Regions from separate parts of the Homo sapiens genome. Here region 1 is linked to region 2. Evidence: promoter capture Hi-C in 16 types of primary human blood cells and fetal thymus (Javierre and others, 2016). All regions are on one chromosome and are shown on one strand. The core of a region is centred on a gene start or on the middle of the fragment in contact, and the rest is flanking DNA. Distances in the headings are between cores, read along the strand shown. Region 1 overlaps LOC107985449 (a long non-coding RNA gene). Region 2 holds the start of SSTR4 (somatostatin receptor 4).

What was found. The method cuts DNA at HindIII sites, captures the fragments that hold promoters and counts their contacts. A CHiCAGO score of 5 or more calls a contact.
Region 1: a contact is called between a fragment that was not itself captured here and the fragment with the promoter of SSTR4 in region 2, in 1 of 17 cell types (neutrophils). The highest score is 5.4, in neutrophils.

Annotation. Positions count from the first base shown.
Region 1 is chr20:22,930,226-22,932,925 of GRCh38, reverse strand. All of the region lies in intron 1 of LOC107985449 (a long non-coding RNA gene), which reads right to left. Among named protein-coding and RNA genes, the nearest start is that of SSTR4, 100 kb to the left of the region's middle. The HindIII fragment of the contact is 2,736 bases long and covers 83-2,700 here.
Region 2 is chr20:23,034,008-23,036,707 of GRCh38, reverse strand. SSTR4 (somatostatin receptor 4) reads right to left here and starts at 1,396. Exons shown (of 1, transcript NM_001052.4): 1 at 1-1,396. The coding sequence starts at 1,224. The coding sequence ends at 58. RefSeq lists an enhancer at 309-855. The HindIII fragment of the contact is 5,481 bases long and covers 1-1,799 here.

The sequences.
Region 1 (2,700 bases), core at 201-2,700, 100 kb after region 2:
AAAACACCCTATTAAAATGTATATAGATACTCAGAGTATACATAAAAAGTAAAATCTAATGCTTCACTGTAAGAAAAAAGCTTTGCTATTTATAATATAAATTAAAAGTAATAAAAAGAATGACAGGTAAAATGTATTCAGTGCATACTATACACTAGGCATTTTCCCACACACTTTCACATACACTGTCTCAACAGGGACACAGTCAGATGGAAAAGTGGCCACAGTAATACCCTGGAGCTGGGGAATTGGATAATTAGATTCCAGAGGCCTCACTGTTAACCACTATATTATTTTTAGATAGAAATAAGTTTAGAAATTGAACAAAGAAATTTAAAGGATGGACAAAGAAAATACCACAAAAAGAAAGCAGCAACATCAATATTGATATCACATGAGGTATCATTTAAAGTCAAAGGTAAAATCTACCGAGAGAATGAAAAGCTCTTGAATGTTTATGTATAAGTGCATGTATAAATGTCAGTGACGCATCTGCAGCAATGACTGTTAGAAATGTAAGAACCTCATAAAAACAAGATAGAGGCACAGTGTTTAACAAACTCCTTGCAGGAGTGGCCAAACATATTGCTAAATATAAATAAAAATGCAGATCACTTAAAAACTGCATTAGCATACTTTATTTAAGAGATACTTTTAGCATTTTTGCTGATGAGAGAATACATTTTGCAAATGCTCATGAAACATTGGCAAAAATTGATCATGTTTTAGAGCCAAAGGAAATTTCAAGAAAGCCTCAAAGAGTGGTATTCTCTAATCACAGTGCAATTAAACTAGTGTAATAGTTAACTTTATGTGTCAACTGAACTGGGCCATGGGGTTTTATTTCTGGGTATATCTGAGAGGGAGTTTCTAGATGAGACTCACATTTGAATTGATAGACTGAGTAGAGAAGATTGCCCTACCCAATAAGGGTGTGCATCTTCCAGTCCAACCACAGAGAACCCAAATAGAACAAAAAGGCCGGGGAAGGAGTTTGTTCTGTCTGCCTGGCTGCTTGCGCTGGGATACTGGCTTCCTCCGGCTCTTGGTCTGGGACTGATGCCATCAGCTCTCCTGGTTCTGGCCTTTGGACTCAGACTGGAACTTGCAACCTGAACTCTCTTTGTTCTCAGGCCGATTGGTTCTGTTTCTCTGGAGAACCTTGACTAATACAATTAGAAAATAAAAGTAAAATTTCCCGTGTCCCCTTCCTCTATCACCAATATAACCACCCCAAGTTAAAAATAATAACTTAAAAAAAAACCTTAGGTTAAGCTAGACATGACAACTAAAATTATGGCTTTGTTAGAAGTTAAAGACAATGAGAACACTATATGTTGGTCCAAAATTATAAAGAAAACCCATAGCATTCAATATTTTTGTTAATGAGGAGAAATGTTTAAAAATATATTAACCAAAAGTTGCTTAAGAATGAAGAATTGTACAACAAAATGAACCAAAGGAAGTTAGAGGAAAGAATTTATAAACACCAAGTAGTCATTACCTAACTTAAAATCACCAAAAATACCCACATAAGCAAACAGTAGAACTGATAAATGAATCCAAATCCTCTTTCCAGGAAAGACCAATAAATAAATCAGCCTCTTACACATCTCTTTAGGAAAAATATGGACAGCACAACAGACAACACCACAAAGCAGAAAATAAATGTGAGGGTAGATATAAAGTATTCTTTAAAAGAATATTTTATATAAATGTCATCCGGAACGTTTTAAAATTCACAAGAATTTAATGCTTCTTTAGGAAATCATAAATTACCAAAATTTTACCCAACAAGAAGCTAAAAAGTACACAGATCAATCACTGTAGCAAAGGCTGAAAAGTGTCCAAATCTATTTCTTCAAAAGGTTCCATGTCTAGATCGTTTTATAGAAAAGTTTTATCTGGGAATAGATTATTTCTTTACATGATAAACTGCTCTGGAACTATTCATTTTATGAGCATATGAACTAACAGTGAAACCTGAACAAACTAATTCCCCCCAAAACAGAAAACTAAAAGCTAGTTTCACATATGAATACAAAGGCAAAAACAATAAATAGAATACTAGTACATCAAAACTAGCATTATATGAAAAGAATCATATTTTAATCAAATAGAGTTTCTTTCAGGAAAAAGAGGCAGGGTCAATGTTTAACTTCTGTTTAACCTACCGCAATTCATCAAGAGGATAAAGAGGAAATTTTTTTAAAGAATTTTGAGAAATCATATAATACATTCAATATTTATTTCTCATAATAATACATACCAGAAAGCAGAAAGGAAAGCCCTCAACATGATAAAGGATATTTATCGTAAATTACAGTGACACCATGTTCAACAGAACAGCAGTGAGACTGTTCCTAGCACAGACAGCGCAACAGCCAGGCTCACCGCAAGTCCACGCTTTTTTTTTTTTTTTGAGATGGAGTCTCGCTCTGTCATCCAGGCTGTAGTGCAGTGGCGCAATCTCGGCTCACTGCAAACTCCGCCTCCCGGGTTCACGCCATTCTCCTGCCTCACCCTCCCAAGTAGCTGGGACTACAGGCGCCCGCCACCAGGCCCGGCTAATTTTTTTGTATTTTTAGTAGAGACGGGGTTTCACTGTGTTAGCCAGGATGGTCTCGATCTCCTGGCCTCGTGTTCTGCCCCCCTTAGCCTTGTTCAACATGCTTATGCCTTATTTGAGATAAGAGAAAT
Region 2 (2,700 bases), core at 147-2,646:
GGAATGGTGCCCACCCCTTGGGAGGTGGCCACGCAGGGTGGGTAGGGGAAGGGCTCCTCAGAAGGTGGTGGTCCTGGTGAGGGGGATGCGCTTGCGGCCGGGTTCTGGTTGCAGGGCTTCCTGCTGGCAGGGGAGTGGGGGGCACATGCACCCTGCCCCACCTTTGCTCTTGAGAGCAGTGGCATAGTAGTCCAGGGGCTCCTCCTCAGCACCTCCAGCACCTTCCAGGAGGCAGCAGCGCAGGCAGAGAACCCGCTGGAAGAATCGGCGGAAGTTGTCGGAGAGGAAGCCATAGAGAATGGGGTTGGCGCAGCTGTTGGCATAGCTAAGGATAAGGGACACGTGGTTGACGGTGGCATCAAGGCTGGTCACGAAGAGGTTCAGCAGCTGCACCACGTAGAAAGGCATCCAGCAGAGCACAAAGACGACCACGACCATCAGCACCAGCCTGGTGATTTTCTTCTCCGAGCGCCTGCGCTGCTGCCAGCCAGCGCGCAGGGCCACGGCGCGCATCTTGCCCACGATGAGCAGGTAGCACAGGCCAATGGCCAGCACGGGCAGCAGGAAGCCCAGCAGGAAAGTGTAGACCACGAAGACTGCCGACCAGGCCGGGTGTGGCCACTGCAGGTTGCAGGCCACGGCCTGGCCGCCGCGAGCCGGTCTGGTGTCTGCGAAGATGGCGATGGGGAGAGTGACCAACAGGGATGCCAGCCACACGCCCAGGTTGATGAGCTTGGCCACGCTGGGCCGCCGGTAGGTCGCCGCGCGCAGAGGGTGCACCACGGCCACGTAGCGGTCCACGCTGAGCACGGTGAGACAGAAGACGCTGGTGAACATGTTGAGGCCGTCGACGCTGAGCACCGCGCGGCACAGCACGGAGCCGAAGGGCCAGTGGCGCAGGGCGGCCGACGAGGCCACGAAGGGCACGCTCAGCATGAAGAGCTCGTCGGCTACGGCCAGGTTGAGCAGGTAGATGTTGGTAGCCGTCTTCATCTTGGCGTAGCGAAGGATCACGAAGATGACCAGGGCGTTGCCCACCAGCCCCACCAGGCACACCAGCGCGTAGATGCACTGGATAGCGACCATGCCCGCCGCCCGCGCGTCCCCGGGCCCCGCCACCGCCTCCTCCGCCTCCGCCGGAGCGCTACTGGCATTGGCTGCAGAGGGCCAGGCCGTCCCCAGCCCTTCCTCGCCCCCGGGGGGCAGCGTCGAGGGGGCGCTCATGACCAGGGGTGCCGGCGCAGGGCAGCTGAGCGCGGCGGAGCTAGCGCTGCGCCAGAGAGCTCGGGCGGCGGGCCCAGGGCGGGGGCTGGCGCGCAGACGCGCGGCTCTTCCCGGCTACGCTGAAGAGCTGCGGGCACCGGGGAGCGCCCGCCAATCCCCGCGCCGCGCGCCCCACCGCGCGGGCGCCCGACTGGCTCGCACCGCTGTGGCCCGCGCCCCTCGGCACCCCAGCTCCTGGGGGTCAGCGCCTCACCCAGCCCTGGAGTCGTCTCCGGCCCCGCCCCGTTTTCCCACCTCGGTCGCCCCCTCCCCGCTGCCGACTCTGCCCCAGGTTCCCAGGTCTCCAGTCCGGCTCCAGTGTCAACAGCACCCCCAGCCCCGTCCGGCCCTCCCGGGGTCCCCCGCCTGGCTTCTTTCCTTCAGACCTCTATTCAGATCCCGTCTTCCCCAGCAGCCCTTTGAGGTCCAGTTCCCTGCTTTGCTACAGGGGGTCTGCGGCGGCGGGGCTGGGGGTCCCGGAGTCCTCCCTTTGGGTAAAGATGTGCCCGGAACTGGTCAGGGACCACCTGGAAGCTTGGACCACTTGCCTTGCACTTGACATCCCCTCACCCTGCCCTTTAATCCTCGCGACGACCCATCCTTGCACATGGCTGAGTCCCTTTTATAGAGGCGGAACCTGAGGCTTCCACTGGCGGCTTGGTGAATTTCAGGTCTGTCAGGATGTCCAGTTTTCCCCACAGCTCACCACTCCTTTCTCTGCTCCCCAACCCACTCTGGACAAGTGCAGATGCCGGACCTTTTAACTTCTGTGTCCGAGCAGCTGAGGTGCTATGGGCACAAGGAATGGAGACGGACAGGTGGAGGCAGAGATGCCACCAAAGAAGGCCAAGCCTGTGCTAGCTCCCTCGGGAACTGGCAGAAGCTACGGGAGCCGGACATCTCAGAACCTTCACCCTGTGACCTGGTTCAGTCATTATCCGCGGGTCTCCATCCCTGGCCACTAAAATGTGCCTGGGGAGGACTGTGGTCGAGAGGTCGGGAAAGAAAGGGGTTCCGGCCTGGAATTACCCTTCTTCTGCTAAACTCCAGAGATAGTGAGTTCACTGGCTCCTGGACTGGACACCCAGGAGCAGCCGCCGGCTCCAGCCCTAGTCCCTCTAGCTGGCACAGGGCACAGGAACGTTCCTGAACTGGGGATTGGCCTGGGAAAGTTATTCTTAAAGTAGCTCTGACTTTTAGGATCCTGGCTGTCTTTGGCCCCTTCTCTGTGGGATGGTGGCCCCCTTTAGCCCCCAGTACAGCCCAGAAAGGCCTTTAGTGGGTCTAAAATTGGCCACCTGGGGGGTGGGGTCTCAGCTTTCCGCTGGGTGGCTGGGACAGCGATGGGGAGGAGGGAGTCCTGTTGCAACTGGAGGAGGCCTTTCTAAGACTGGGGGGTGGGGGAAGCTGCCCACTGCTGTTTATCCAGGTGTGGGA